3 separate regions of the Homo sapiens genome follow, and regions 2 and 3 are each linked to region 1. The links are contacts of gene promoters, found by promoter capture Hi-C in blood cells and fetal thymus (Javierre and others, 2016). All regions are on one chromosome and are shown on one strand. Each heading gives the region's core, a stretch centred on a gene start or on the middle of the fragment in contact. The rest is flanking DNA. Distances are from core to core; before and after follow the strand shown.

The links. The method cuts DNA at HindIII sites, captures the fragments that hold promoters and counts their contacts. A CHiCAGO score of 5 or more calls a contact.
Region 2: the fragment with the promoter of ZNF417 here is called in contact with the fragment with the promoter of ZNF324 in region 1 in 3 of 17 cell types (naive CD8 T cells, neutrophils and fetal thymus); the score reaches 6.9 in naive CD8 T cells.
Region 3: a contact is called between the fragment with the promoter of ZNF154 here and the fragment with the promoter of ZNF324 in region 1, in 4 of 17 cell types (neutrophils, fetal thymus, total CD4 T cells and 1 more). The highest score is 9.9, in neutrophils.

The regions. Positions count from the first base shown.
Region 1 is chr19:58,464,801-58,469,881 of GRCh38, forward strand. ZNF324 (zinc finger protein 324) reads left to right here and starts at 2,280. Exons shown (of 4, transcript NM_014347.3): 1 at 2,280-2,383; 2 at 4,380-4,506; 3 at 4,928-5,044. The coding sequence starts at 4,386. RefSeq lists enhancers at 2,011-2,627, 2,628-3,242, 3,661-3,780 and silencers at 2,270-2,319, 2,400-2,529. The HindIII fragment of the contact is 6,014 bases long and covers 1-4,138 here.
Region 2 is chr19:57,915,342-57,920,307 of GRCh38, forward strand. It overlaps ZNF417 (zinc finger protein 417), which reads right to left and starts at 1,251. Exons shown (of 3, transcript NM_152475.3): 1 at 1,038-1,251. The coding sequence starts at 1,070. RefSeq lists enhancers at 1,008-1,297, 1,316-2,171, 1,568-1,627. The HindIII fragment of the contact is 13,199 bases long and covers 1-4,966 here.
Region 3 is chr19:57,705,649-57,710,652 of GRCh38, forward strand. ZNF154 (zinc finger protein 154) reads right to left here and starts at 3,556. Exons shown (of 3, transcript NM_001085384.3): 1 at 3,291-3,556. The coding sequence starts at 3,323. RefSeq lists enhancers at 3,144-3,783, 3,527-3,656, 3,677-3,736. The HindIII fragment of the contact is 9,236 bases long and covers 1-5,004 here.

The sequences.
Region 1 (5,081 bases), core at 1,030-3,529:
TGCAAGCTCCACCTCCCAGGTTCATGCCATTCTCCTGCCTTAGCCTCCTGAGTAGCTGGGACTACAGGCGCCCGCCACCACACCCAGCTACTTTTATTTTTGTATTTTTTAGCAGAGACTGGGTTTCACCGTGTTAGCCAGGATGGTCTCGATCTCCTGACCTCAAGATCCGCCCACCTCGGCCTCCCAAAGTGCTGGGATTACCGGCGTGAGCCACAGCGCCCGGCCACAGCTTGAATAGTTCTAAGTGTTGGGGTTTTTTTTCTTCAGGGTTTTTGAACTTTAATACTTCCTTTTTTTTTTTTTTTTTTTTTTGAAACGGAGTCTCGCTCTGTCGCCCAGGCCGGACTGCGGACTGCAGTGGCGCAATCTCGGCTCACTGCAAGCTCCGCTTCCCGGGTTCACGCCATTCTCCCGCCTCAGCCTCCCCAGTAGCTGGGACTACAGGCGCCCGCCACCGCGCCCGGCTAATTTTTTGTATTTTTAGTAGAGATGGGGTTTCACCTTGTTAGCCAGGATGGTCTCGATCTCCTGACCTCATGATCCACCCGCCTCGGCCTCCCAAAGTGCTGGGATTACAGGCGTGAGCCACCGCGCCCGGCCCTGAACTTTAATACTTCTAAGTGTTGGGGTTTTTTTTTTCCCCCTCAGGGTTTTTGTTTGTTTTTTCCTGAGACAGGGTCTCTCTCTTACCCAGGCTGGAGTGCAGGGGCTCCATCATAGCTCACTGCACACTCCAACTCCTGAACTCAATCCTCCCACCTCAGCCTCCCATGTAGCTGGTATTACAGGCATGCAAGACCATGCTCAGCTAATTTTTATATTTTTTTATAAAGATGGGGTCACATTTTGTTGCTCAGGCTGGTCTCAAACTCCTAGGCTCCAGTGATCGCTCACCTTGGCCACCCAAAGTGCTCAGATTCCAGGTGTGAGCCACTGCGCCCAGTCCTGAAATGTTCTTAAATTCTTTCAAAGTAGCAAAATTTATATTAAAACATTCCAAACATGATGAGCTCCCTTGCTCTACAAGGATTTACAAGTAGAATCAATTAGGTGGACAGTTATAGCTGACAGTTGACAGAGAGATAGTTATAGATGGAGGTAGGTATAGAGGGAGGGAGGCAAAAAGAGTTAAGGAACTGGACAGCTGAGAACTGTCTACAGGTTCCAAAAACAAGACAAAGAACCTTTTATTATCTGCCAAACAAGACAGTCTACATTGAGACTGCTCTGCCTTTCGTTTTTATGTGTCAAAGACACTTAAATTGGCCTGTAATCCCAGCACTTTGGGAGAACGAGGTGGGCGGATCACCTGAGGTCAGGAGTTCAAGACCAGCCTGGCCAACATGGTGAAACTCCATCTCTACTAAAAAATACAAAAATTAGCCAGGCATGGTGGCGCACACCTGTGGTCCCAGCTACTACGGAGGCTGAGGCGGGGGGATCACTTGAACCTGAAGGCAGAGGTTGCAGTGAGCCGAGATTGTGCCACTGCACTCCAGCACGGGCAACAGAACAAAGACCCTGTTAAAAAAAAAAAAAAAAAACTTAAATGAGTCCCAAGAAAAAAGGAAAAAAGAATGAATATTGTGATGTGTGGGGCAAGACAAGATCTAGATGGTCTAAGGACAAGCAAATCTGGGGAATTAACTTCTGCCCATCCAAATTACAAGGAAAACAGATGCTTTGGGCAAGTGTCGAGGAACAGTCTCATACTTAAGACAAATGTAGGCTTACGGGCTGAGAATTCTTGGTGTAAAGGTTGAAAACGGACCTTAAACCTTTACGGGACATTGACACAGAGAGGTCAAACCCGCGCCCAGGACGCACAGTCAGTGAGAGGCAGAGCTGGGAAGGGAACCCGGAGCTCCAGGCATCGGCTCCTCCACCTCCACCTGCGCTACCCGGTGCATTTTCTCCTCCGTGCTCACTGCTGGTGTTGCCTCTTGGAACCTCGGCAGTTTCTGCTTTCGCACCTGCAGGGTTTAGTCTCCGGGACTGCTTGGGAGGACACCTGGAATGCCGAAGGCAGGACTACACACCGGGCGAATCCACCAGCGCCACCAAGCCCTTGAAAACCCGAGGCCGCCGCGCGACTCCATTTCCCAGCGCCCCGCGCGGCAGGGGCTTGGACGTTGCCAAGGAGACCGGTAGTGGCCCCGCCTCCACGCAGGGAAACAGGCGGGAACCACGTGACCCGGAAGGCTGTACGCAAGCGTCCGCGGCGCGCACTGGGCCAATGAGAACCGAAGGGCTGGACTTCCGGCGGTGGGACTGTCACTTCGCCGCCCGCGTCAGGCCACACCGGTGGTCTGGGCTGGGGACCGCGGGTCGGGTCCGGTTTCCAGGGGGTTCCTGGTGCTCGAGGCTGGCGGCGAGGAAGGTACTGGCTGAGGGCCCGCGTCGGGCCCGCCCTGCGCACGCGTCGTGATCAAGGGCGCCGGCCGCCGGCCGCGCCCCCAAGCCTCTGTTTCTCAGAGTGCGTCGTGGGCGTCCAGGGGACTGTCGGGCCGCGGCGGGAGCCATGCGCTCTCCCACCGTGCGGCAGCCCAGGAGGCTGCGCGCTGGGCGTTCCACGTCCATGATGGCCGGGGAGACTGAGGCGCGGGGCGGCCCCGGGACGCTGCTGGCGGGGAAAGGCTGGGTGGTCCACGCCTTTCTTCCCTCCCAGCTGCGGGTTCCGCTGGCGGCGGTGGCGCTGACAAGCCCGCGTCGGGGAAGCAGGGGAGTCCCTGCTCACACAGACCGCGCCCTCACGGAGGGAGGCCGCTTCCTAGACCTCGCCTAGTCGTCTTTCCTCTCCCTGCCCTGGGGGGGTTGCGGGGGTCAGTGCAAACTCCTGCGTCCAGGGCACTGGTGAGCTCCCGAGTTCGGGCAGCCAGGGGGCTGAGGTCCCGAAGGAGGCTCCGAGGGGAGAGTCCTGCGTGTGCAAAACCTGGGAGGGGAGCCGAAGCCCAGGTGCTTCTGGGACTGAGCTCTCTCGATGTGGAGCTGGAGTAGAGGGGATGTGTGCGGCTGCAGTATCAGGCGAGGGAGTGGGCTTTATCTCGAGGGCGTCGGGAGACATAGAAGTTTTGAACAGAATCAGGACATCCTCTGAGGACTTTAAAACGGTTCCACCGTTTGTTGCGTGGAGAACAGACATGCAGGGGTGTCGGCATGAAGGGAAGAACCGACTGCCACAGTCTGGGCAGCAGTGGAGGTGGGCGACCAGGTGAATTCTGGTGGATCTGCGGATGCATCAGGTGTGGGCTGTTTGAAGAACTAAGTACCCCATGTTGTTCAGCCTGAGCGCCTGGAAGAAGAGAGCTGCTGTAGATAGAAAGGAGAATTGAAAGGAAAGCAGGTTTCCTTCAGGGGAAAGATCAAGAGTCTGGGATGTCCCAGGTTGGTCATGTCACTGGACCTGACGTTGTTGGCGTCCTGGGCTGTGGACAGGGCCTATGAATTGGACTGAGGAATGGGCAGGGACTCAGCCAGGTGTGGGCAGTTATGGCTTGAGGGTAAAGAAGACCAGCTGGGATGCCTGGGGCTATTGGGAAGAGCCTAGCACCTAACTGAGGAGGGGAGGGTGGCAACAGAGAGGGGAAGAAAGGGGACACCGGGTGAAAGGAGGAAGGGATTGAGTTCCTCTGTGTTCACAGGTTGTTGAGGCTGCTCCCCTGTGGCGACTGGTGAGAATCATCCAGTCCCTCAGGCTGGATGAGCAGCCTGGAAATGTCAGGCAAGCAGGCTCAGCAGGGGAGGGTCCCAGTGATGGGTATGCCTGGGAAGCCCCTGCTGGGACTCACAGTTTCTTGCTACAAGAGCAGGAAGGGTGCATCTGGGGAGGGTCATGAGTGGTCATGCTGAGTCACGAGTGGACACCTGGGGCTGCTCTTGGTGTGGCAGCTGAGGGCCCAGCCAGGACTTGTTCTAGCTTGCTTGTGTATGGCGTTGCCAGTGGGGAGGCCAAGAAGGCATCTGGGGTCTGGTCAGGGAGGGCAGAGGGGAGGGGTCCCAGACATGTGAGGGAAGTGCCATCTGAAGATGGTGGGGGCAGAACCCAGGGAAGGAGGGTGAGTGTCTGAGGGACATCATGGAAGGTGGCTGTTGGGATGGGGAGCTTGGTCCTGGCTCACAGCCATACCTTAAACTAAGCTTGTCCAACCCACTGCCCAGGATGGCTTTGAATGCAGCCCAAAACAAGTTCGTGAACTTTCTTAAAACATGAGATGTTTATGCAATTTTTATTTTTTTTAGCTCATCAGCTGTTATTAGTGTTAATGTATTTTATGTGTTGCCCAAGACAATTCTTCTTCCAATGTGGCCCAGGGAAGCCAAAAGATTGGATAACCCAGCCTTAGACCATGGCTGTCTCTTCCTCCCTGCTCTTTTAGGACCAGATGGCCTTTGAGGATGTGGCTGTGTACTTCTCCCAGGAGGAGTGGGGGCTCCTGGACACAGCCCAGAGGGCCCTGTACCGCCGCGTGATGCTAGACAACTTCGCACTTGTGGCCTCGCTGGGTAAGGTCCTAGATACTCCATGAAATGGGCAACTGATAACAAGCTGACTGGCCAGGGCTGCCCCCTCACCTCCCTGGTGGCTGACGAGCAGGCCTATACCTTGCAGCCAGGAGCCATGTGGAATAGGGGTCTGGTCCTATAGACATGCAGTCTGGTTGGCTCAACCACTCCCTGTGGCGCTGTCCGGCTGTGGCCTCTCCGAGCCTTGGCTCAGTCCCCTTCCTTTGGTGCCCTGGGCACAGTTGCTGCCCTGGGGATGAATGAGCTATTCCTGTGAGCCCCTTGCCCTGTGCCATCTTTAGATTCTGCAGTTGCACAGATGACATTTTCTGTTTCCGTGAAGCCCTGACTCCTGCCCTCTGTTTGGAGGTGGGTTATCTTGAGCTGGGGCTGGACTCTAACCTGCACCTCCTCCTCACAGGACTCTCCACCTCTCGACCTCGTGTGGTCATCCAACTGGAGCGTGGCGAGGAGCCCTGGGTTCCCAGTGGAACGGACACAACCCTGTCCAGGACCACCTACAGGAGGCGCAACCCTGGTGAGAGGGAGCTCAGGGTGGGGTGAATTCAGGACCA
Region 2 (4,966 bases), core at 1-2,500, 550 kb before region 1:
AATGCACAGCCCTCGGCCTGCTTACTCTTCCAGGGAGAGCTCCACCTCACACTTTGTTCCAGACAGGTTCCATCCTCCCGGCTCCGTCCATCTCCAGGCCATTGCCTGCGCCCCTCCCTGTGCTTGTTGCTCTCCCCACCGCATCCCACGGGTGTCAGAAACAGGTGAAACCGTCTTTGCAAAATTATAACTGAGGAAATTATGACAGTGAAAGAAATCAGACCTTACTGACTCCGTCTTGCTTCCAACCTTTCAGCTGTCCTTGTTCATTCCTGGGTATAGGCTGAATTAACTTAGGGAAGGAATTCAGTTCATGGTTTCACTCTGAAACAAAATTGATAATAGCCCTTTCCTGAAAAGACCCCCTTCTTGCCTGGAGAACAGCCTGCCTTTGCAGGACTAACGAATTAGCTACAAGGTTAGAAATTACCGTTTAGGGGTCATGCAGCTTCTGACTCCAAGAGTCTGAACCTCCCCAAGTTGCTCCTGAAGATAAATCACTATTGTAAAACCTAAGATCAGTGCTTGAGGTATTTTGCAGATCCTGCACTGGATGGATCAGCTGACAACACACAGACCGGTAATCTGGGTCAATCAGTTCTGCCATCCCACCCAGAACAGAAAACAGCATGAAAAACTCACTTTAACCCTCTATGAATCCATCTCAGGTCCCAACCCTTACCGCCAAATTAATGTTGAAAACTCTGATCCCGGAATGCTAATGGAGACTGATTTGAGTAATAATAAAACTCCTGTCTCCAGAACAGCCTGACGGCTCTGCGTCAATTACTATTTCTCCATCGCAATTCTCCAGTCTTCATAAATCGGCTCTGTCTAGGCAGCTGGCAAGGTGAACCCACTGGACAGTTACACAGGGACCCCCACTGGACAGTTACACAGGGACCCCTCCTGCGAGCGCCTCAGTGTTCCTACGCCGGGTACCGGCTACAGACCCGTGAGCAGGAGCCGCTCCCTCGCTGGTTTAGGACCTGGGTGACGATGGGGTGACCTGAGGGCACAGAAGGCGCCACAATTACCTGAGTCGGGCGCCTCGGCGCAGCCGCTGCCATCGGACTACTTGGGGAAGCACGGCCCGGGAGCAGTGGTCGCCGTCACGGGGCTGCAGAGCCGCCTCTGGGCACCGAGGACGATTCCTCTCCACCTTCTAGGTTCAGTCACCGCGGTCCCCCCCCAGCACTCAGGGGCCACAAACTGGGGAAACACCCGCGTCACCGATACACAGCCGCTACTAGAGACCCCGGAAGTCTCAGCCTTACGTTACGTGCACACGTGGAAATGCCTTCTTTCCGAGTGCTCATTGGCTCTGACCGGCTGTCGTTTAACGCAGAGCTTTCTGGGTAATGTAGTTCCCCACTTTCCATGGCGCTAAAAAGAGCGATACCCAGAGTCCATCTGCAGGAAAAGCCCGCCATCAGGTCAGGGGTTCTCCTTAAAAAGCGCACCCTTCTGGCCGGGCGCAGTGGCTCAAGCCTGTAATCTCAGCACTTTGGAAGGCGGAGGTGGGCGGATCACGAGGTCAGGAGATGGAGACCATCCTGGCTAACACGGTGAAACCCCGTGTCTACTAAAAATTCAAAAAAAAAAAAAGTTAGCTGGGTGTGGTGGCGGGCGCCTACAGTCACAGCTACTCTGGAGGCTGAGGCTGGAGGAGAATGGCGTGAACCTGGGAGGCAGAGCTTGCAGTGAGCTGGGATCGCGCCACTGCCCTCCAGCCTGCGCGACAGAGCAAGACTCTGTCTCAAAAAAAAAAAAAAAAAAAAAAAAAAAAAAAAAAAAAAAGGCGCCTTTCTAGGGCAGAGGAGGGGTCTCACCTAGCCTTAGAAGCCGTATTGAGATTCCTGGAGACTAGTGTCTGTAACTAATCACTCAAGAATCTGGAAAAATACTGTTTCAGATTTCGGGGAGCGCAAGGTAAATAATAGGGAGCTCAAGCTAAAACTATTATTTAGGATTCTCCTAAAGGCTAAAAATCCAAATTACCACACCGTTTGAAACAGTCGTTCAGTCGCAAAATACCTGCACTGGAAGCAGAGGCTGATAAGCGTTGTTGTGTTATAATGTGTCTGAAGGCCCTCAGAAGCCTTAGAGTGCCTAAGGCAAATGAAGGAAGTTAGGGATGTGCTCCCCTATAGCAGGAGTGCAAAGCTGAATCTCTGTGATTCCTACAGAAAACAACTCTCCTGCTGATAGAATCTGTGAAAGGAAAATCTTGTGGCCTCAAAATTACTAAGCTAAAGGGAAAAGTCAATCTGGGAACTGCTCAGGGCAAACTTGCCTCCCATTCTATTCAAAGTCTTCCCTCTCCTCACTGAGATAGATGCCTATTCTGATTGCCTCCTTTGGAAGGACTTATCAGAAATTAAAAAGAATCCAACTATTTGTCTCTCTACCTGTCTACCTGTGACCTGGAAGTCCCCTCCCTGCTTCGAGTTGTTCCCGCCTTTCTGGTCGGAACCAATGTACTTCTTACATATATTCACTGATGTCTCATGTCCCCCTAAAATGTATAAAACCAACCTGTACCCCAACCACCATGGGCACATGTCGTCAGGACTTCCTGAGGCTGTGTCACGGGCATGTGTCCTCAACCTTGGCAAAATAAACTTTTTCTTTTATGAGACGGAGTCTCGCTCTTTGGTCAGGCTCGAGTGCAGTGGCGCGATCTCGGCTCACTGCAACCTCTGCCTCTCGGGTTCAAGTGATTCTCCTGCCTTAGCCTCCCGAGTAGCTGGGAGTACAGGCACGTGGCATCACGCCAATTTTTGTAGTTTCAGTACAGACGGGGGTTTCACCTTGTTTAGGATGGTCTCGATCTCCCTCGTGATCTGCCTGCCTCACCCTCCAATGTGTTGGGGTTACAGGCATGAGTCACCACACCTGGCCAGCAAAATAAACTATTTAAATTAACTGAGACCTGTCTCAAATTTGGGGGGTTCACAAATCATTATAGCGTTCAATTAATTGAACAACACTTTTTCCCACTTAGTATCCTTTACTTGATATTCTAACTTACATTCAACTCCTTTTAGTAATTTGACATCAGTCTTATAAAGAACAATAAGGCTGGGCACGGTGGCTCACGCCTGTAATCCTCGCACTTTGGGAGGCCGAGGCAGGCGGATCACCAGTTCAGGAGATCGAGACCATCCTGGCTAACATGGTGAAACCCCGTCTCTACTAAAAATACAAAAAAAAAATTAGCCGGGTGTGGTGGCACACGCCTGTAGTCCCAGCTACTCGGGAGGCTAAGGCAGGAGAATCACTTGAACCCGGGAGGCAGAGGTTGCTGTGAGCTGAGATCGCGCCATTGCACTGCAGCCTGGCGACAGAGCGAGACTCTCTCAAACAAAGAAACAAAAAACAATAAAATAAATGGTATCTTGGTAGTAGTGATGGCTACAGTCTGTAAAAAGTAAAGTACAGGTTCCTCTTCAAAGACTTTCCTCCCATCTAATTAGGAATAAATAGTAACTTCTCTTAGAAGCAAAATTTATTCAAAGACCTGTGCTAACATTCTTAAATATCTTCTAGCCGTAATTAAAAAAATCCATGTACTTTATGTTCTTAGCTCCCACAATTTAGCCTAAATATTTGCCCTGGCATGTTTACACTGGTCCAAGCAAGCATTGTCATAGCCTGTTCCTCTTATTTGAAGGTGTTTTTGCCTTTCTTAGCATTCCATAAGTTAATTCCTCCTTCGTTTTCCTCTTGCCTTTGCCTCTTTTAAAAATGTTCTAAGTTGCTAGTCAATCAGGACAAATACAGAATGTGAATTTGTATTTAGCCAGTGGAAACCGGACACAGCAGTAAGGTGGATGCGTCAGGCAGGTTATAAATGACCCTGTCTCCTTTGTTCAGTGTAATCTCACAGCAAAACTGCTGGCGAGTATACCGTTTCTGCAGAAAGTAAAAATGGCCTTGCTGAGGAAATTAAATTTATGTTCAATGCTATTTCTTTCTTTCTTTTTTTTTTTTTGAGACGGAGTTTCGCTCTTGTTGCCCAGGCTGGAGAGCAATGGCGCGATCTTGGCTCACCACAACCTCCGTCTCCCAGGTTCAAGTGATTCTCCTGCCTCAGCCTCCTGAGTAGTTAGGATTATAGGCATGCGCCACCATGCCCAGCTAATTTTGTATTTTTAGTAGAGATGGGGTCTCTCCATCTTGGTCAGGCTGGTCTTGAACTCCCGACCTCAGGTGATCCTCCCACCTCGGCCTCCCAAAGTGCTGGGATTATAGGCATGAGCCACCGCGCCCGGCCAAGTCAAGTGCTATTTCTTTACGGCACTAAAGAACAAGCATTTCAAACAGTACTTAAAGTTGGTGCTCTCCATCTGTTCATACTGGGCATTTGTAAAAGCCATGAGTTCATGTCATTGATGGGAAGTGATTATCATTGATTTGAGAGGAGGGAGTGTTCTGCATGAAAAATTAATATTACATAAGAGAAACAGTTGTAAATTGCAAGATACAAAAGCCTATTAATACTGACTAGGTAGGCTGGGCGTGGTGGCTCACGCCTGTAATCCCAGCACTTTGGGAGGCCGAGGTGGGCAGATCACAAGGTCAGGAGATCGAGACCATCCTGGCTAAGACGGTGAAACCCCGTCTCTACTAAAAATACAAAAAATTAGCCAGGCCTGGTGGCAGGTGCCTGTAGTCCCAGCTACAGGGGAGGCTGAGGCAAGAGAAACGCGTGAATCCAGGAGACGGAGCTTGGAGTGAGCGGAGATCACGCCACTGCACTCCAGCCTAGGCATCTCAAAAAAAAAATTAGCCAGGCGTGGTAGCAAGTGCCTGTAGTCCCAGCTACTTGGGAGGCTGAGACAGAAGAACTGCTTGAACCCGGGAGGCAGAGGTTGTAGTGAGCCTAGATCGTGCAATTGCACTACAGCCTGGGCGACAGAGCGAGACTCCGTCTCTCTCCCGCTCCCCCAAAAATATAAAA
Region 3 (5,004 bases), core at 2,306-4,805, 760 kb before region 1:
GAGGCTGAGGCAGGAGAATTGCTTGAACCCAGGAGGCGGAGGTTGCAGTGAGCCAAGATTGCGAAACTGCACTCCAGTCTGGGCGACAGAGCGAGACTCCGTCTCAAAAAAAAAAAAAAAAGAAAGATGATATAGCAGTTTATTAATCATATGTACATAGAACCTGGGAGATGAGGACAACATGTACCACACAGGGTCACATGGGGGTCTAGTCCAGAAAAAAAGTGAATAACCAAAAACTGTGGGATGCAAGCACTTTGAGAACAAAAGGATCAACTGCCCCCTGGTTCCCACAATGGGCTTGTTTGGAAAACTCCATGACCTGGTAGGGAGCTGAAATCTGCTACAAAGTGATAGGCAGAAATTGTGCCTGGTCTCCTTGATTAAAAGGGTTGTCTGTTTGGGAGAAGAGTAGGGAGGGAAACTTGTACTCAGGCCATTTGATGCCACCCTGATTTCACCAGATGTCATACTGGGCCTTAATTTTAGACTTTACACCATAACTTAGCACACAGCGTCCAGAGTATGCTCGACAGATTCAAACGGATCTAATACTACCCTAGATCTCCCAGGGCATCCACTAGTGGTAGCAGCCCCAAATCCTATGAGGGCTCCCTGGCTGGCTCCATTCTTTGCCTCAGATTTAGGCCACACAGAACCACATGTGCATCTCAGATACCCATGGCCCTATTCCACTTCCGTGCTGCACTTGCTAGCCCCTCAGCAGTAACAACCTTCCTCTGTCCACTTAACACTCAAAGACTAGCTCCACTGATCACCTACCCCAGGCCAAGTGACTGTCACAGATGACCACATTGGCACCTGGCCTTATCCTCCAGGTTGAATAAACACCCTAGGCCCCATCAAAGTCATCAAAAAATCCTGGTGATTCCACAGAGTGCTGAATAAGCACAAAGGAAAAAAAGGACAGCCATTTGCCTCAAATACACCTATGCCTCTGCATCCACCTTATATCCACTCTTCCCTTGAAAGTGTATGCCACCTGCCCAACTATCCTCTCCAAACACCCTACCTCCATAGCCACTAACCTCCCTTACCTCTGTTTAGAAAGCCCAAGAATATCACCCACTTATCCAACCAAAAGGCTTGGTCCTTAGCCCCCATTCTGCCCTTCCTGGCCAAATAACCTGTACCACCATGCCTAAAGATTAACCCTTGTAGGCCGGATGCGGTGGCTTACGCCTGTAATCCCAGAACTCTGGGTGGCTGAGGCGGGTGGATCACCTGAGGTTGGGAGTTCAAGACTAGCCTGACCAACATGGAGAAACCCTGTCTCTACTAAATAAATACAAAATTAGCCGGGCGTGGTGGCGCATGCCTGTAATCCCAGCTACTCGGGAGGCTGAGGCAGGAGAATTGCTTGAAGCCGGGAGGCGGAGGTTGTGGTGAGCCAAGCTCGCGCCATTGCACTCTGGCCTGGGCAACAAGAGAGACACTCCATCTCAAAAAAAAAAAAAAAAAATAGAACAACCCTTCTAAATGTAATCCACAGCTCACTCACCTTAGTCCACACAATGACCACCACATTTTGGATGTCTCCATTCTGAAGCACTCCCCAGATTTCCAGACCTGGGTGTTCAGCCACCTACTTAATGCCTACTTAATGTCTCTGAAACATCTCAAACTCTTACATGACCAAATAAAGCTCCTGTTGTCTCCAGTGAATATTACTGTTAATACCAACTTCTCCATCTCAGTTGAAGAACCATGGGGTCATCGCTGAATCCTGTTTCACTCCCTCGCTGTCTACATCAGAAAATTTAGTTGCTCCCTTTAAAAATTTGCATCCAGAATGCAACACATCTCCTAATCAATGACTCTGGTCCATTACCCTGGACTGGCTGTAGCTTCCACTCTGATCTTCTTTCCTCTTCCCTCAACCCCACAGTCTGCTCTCCACGCTAACGGGATGGACCCTGTTAGGACTTTGGTAAGATCACCTCCCTCTTGTAACCCAAATCTCTCATTACCTCCAGAATAGGTACCCAACTTCTCAGGCAGCCACTGCAGTCCTGACTCCTTCCCCCTGCTCTTTGTTCCCAGCTAAAAGGAAACAGATCTATGGTTTCCTCAAAAATCTCAGCTTAGTTTTACTAAGCACTTGCGCCTCCTGATACCAGTGCCAGAGATAACCTTTCACAAGTTTCCACTGGCTGACAAAAATGGGAACACCTCAGTATAACCCCTGTAACCTCTGGCATGGACTTAAGAGCCCTGGGCTTGGAATTTCTCCAGGGCACCAGACCCAGGATTGGGGTAACAGCACTTAAGAATACTAGGAAACCACAATCCCAAGAACATGGGGGTAGAGGCTACTGAGGGACCGAACACTCTCCACTTCCCTATGTGAGTTCCATACGCCCTTCTACAACTGGGAGAACCAGGGAAAGAGGAATGCATCCCTGGTGAGGCTAGATGAGCTCAAGCCTCCCTGTAGCCCTGCCTGGCCCTGAACTCAGGCTGGCTGTTTTACTTTCTGGTCTCAGTGCTGTCACCTCTTGCCAACTGTAGGGCAATGAAAAAAAGATGTAGCCTCCCACTATCTCAATGTCCTCATCGCCCCATCGCTGCTCTTCCTGTGAACAGTCTTTGGAAAAGTTTTTAAACCCTAACATAGGGCGGGCACGGTGGCTCACGCCTGTAATCCCAGCACTTTGGGAGGCCGAGGCAGGAGGATCACTTGTCAGGAGTTCCAGACCAGTCTGGCCAAAATGGTGAAATCCCGTCTCTACTAAAAATACAAAAAATTAGCCGGACGTTGTAATCCCAGCTGCAGGCTTGTAATCCCAGCTGCTGGGGAGGCTGAGGCAGGAGAATCGCTTGAACCCGGGAGTCGGAGGTTGCAGTGACCCGAGATCGCGTCATTGCACTCCAGCCTGGGCGATAAGAGCGAAACTCCGTCTCAAAGAAAAAAAAACTAACATAAATGGCGTCCCTCCTTTGTTCAGAACTCTCCGTGGCTTCTAGCATCCTCACAATGACAGTACAACCCTAGGAGTAACTCCGCCTCATATTCTTCGTTCCCTGCAGAAAACAGCTTTCCGAATTCTCCTGGCTCAGTCGCGCCTCAACCTTTGCACGCGCCGGTTCCTCCGCCTGTCACGCTCTCCCACACCTCGTCACACGCAGTGTCAAAAAAAGGGCCCCACCCACGAACGCCTCAGTGTCCCCGACCCTGGGCAGCGGGGACTCGAGCAGGCGCCCCTCACTGATGGCTTTAGAACGTGGGTGGGGGAAGGTGTGTGAGGACGGGAAGACGCCGCACTCACCTGAGTTGGCGTCCTCAGAGTGGCCGCTGCCATCAGACTCTGCGGGTAGAGCTGGGCCGGGAGCGACGGGCGACATTGGTAGGGACCCGGGGACAGCGGTCCCTATCCCAGGCCTGACGTGGGTCCCCCAGGGCGGCGTCGCCAAGGCTTAGACGCTTTCGTGCAGGAGGGACGACGACTCCCCTCACGCCTTCGTGGCCCCAACTCGGCGCTCTGCTATCTCTGATCCGGTGAACACACCTCAGAGAAGCTAAAATGGCCGCCACGAAGAGGCCCCCCCAAAAGTCCCGTCCTTTCTTTTTGTGACTCTCAAGGAAAGTCGGTTTTCTGAGCTCTTACTGGCTTAGTAGCGTGGCGTTCAACGCAGAGCATTCTAGGTAATGTAGTTTTCATAGATCCCGAGGTGGGTGCCGGGGACCCTTTGCACCAACCTCTTGGAGTAAAAGCGAAGCTCCAGGGCGCTGGGCGATGAGAAATGGCTTATCCAAGTCCTAGGGCAGTGGAGGGACTTCGCCCTTTCTTAAATGGGTCGTAATCAGACAGCATATTAGAGGTGCCATCTGCAACTGATCACCCAAGTGTTTGGGGAATATTATTTCAAACTTCATAAAGTTCAGCAGGCTCCCAGAGGCTAAAATTATTATCAGACGCTCCCTAAGGCTGCCAATCCAAATATGTACATCATTCCATAGAGCCATTCAGACACGAAATATATCCACTAGTAGGGAAGCTAATAAACATTACCATATAAGTTTATTCCTTTTTTTTTTTTTTTAAGACAAAGTTTCCCTCTGTCCCCCAGGCTGGAGTGCAGCGGCGCCATCTGGGATCACTGCAACCTCCGCCTCCCGGGTTAATCGATTCTCGTGCCTCAACCTTCCAAGTAGCTGGGACTATAGGCGCGCGCCACCACGCCAGGCTAATTTTTTGTATTTTCAGTAGAGACAGGGTTTCACTATGGTGGTCCCAAATTCCTGGCCCCAGGTGATCTGCCCGCCTCGGCCTCTCAAAGTGCTGGGATTACAGGCGTAAGCCACCGTACCCAGCCTCTATCATATTACATTTCAAATGTATGCACTCCGAAGCATTGAAGTCAGTCTGTGCACTTTTGGTCAGGGACAGGTGAAAAACTACTTCAGATAGTGGCATGATAGTGCTTCTAGAAGATAGAAGAGAAATGTTAGATCACCTTGAAACAGTAGTACAAAGGTAGAATTCTGTCTGATTCCAACAGAAAACATCTTTTGCCTGCATAGTCAATTATTGTGTCCAATTACTGTGTCCAGTCAATAACTGTGTCCAATTCACTGAGCAACGCTTTTATCCATTTCATAATTCTTACTTGATATCTGAGATATATTCCTTCTAGAAGTCTAACATCAATCTCAAAAAACAATGAAAGAAATGCTACTTTGATAAGAGACAAAGGGGAGAGGTGGGACTTCTTAATCAGAAAGCCGGTGAAATGCACTTGAAGGAAGTGAGAAATGAGCCATGTGGGTATTTTTAGAATAAATTCCAGGCAGAAGAAGCAGGTTACTAGAGTGCCTGGATGGATGGAGACTTCACAGGGCATTTCAGCATTGGAGGGCCTAGGGCTCCAACCCAGCAGGCCTTCATCTGCTTTGCTGGCTGCAGAGACACTCAGGGTATATAGGTGAGAAATCTCTTCTTTTTTTTTTTTCTTTTTTTTTGAGATGGAGTTTCACTCTTA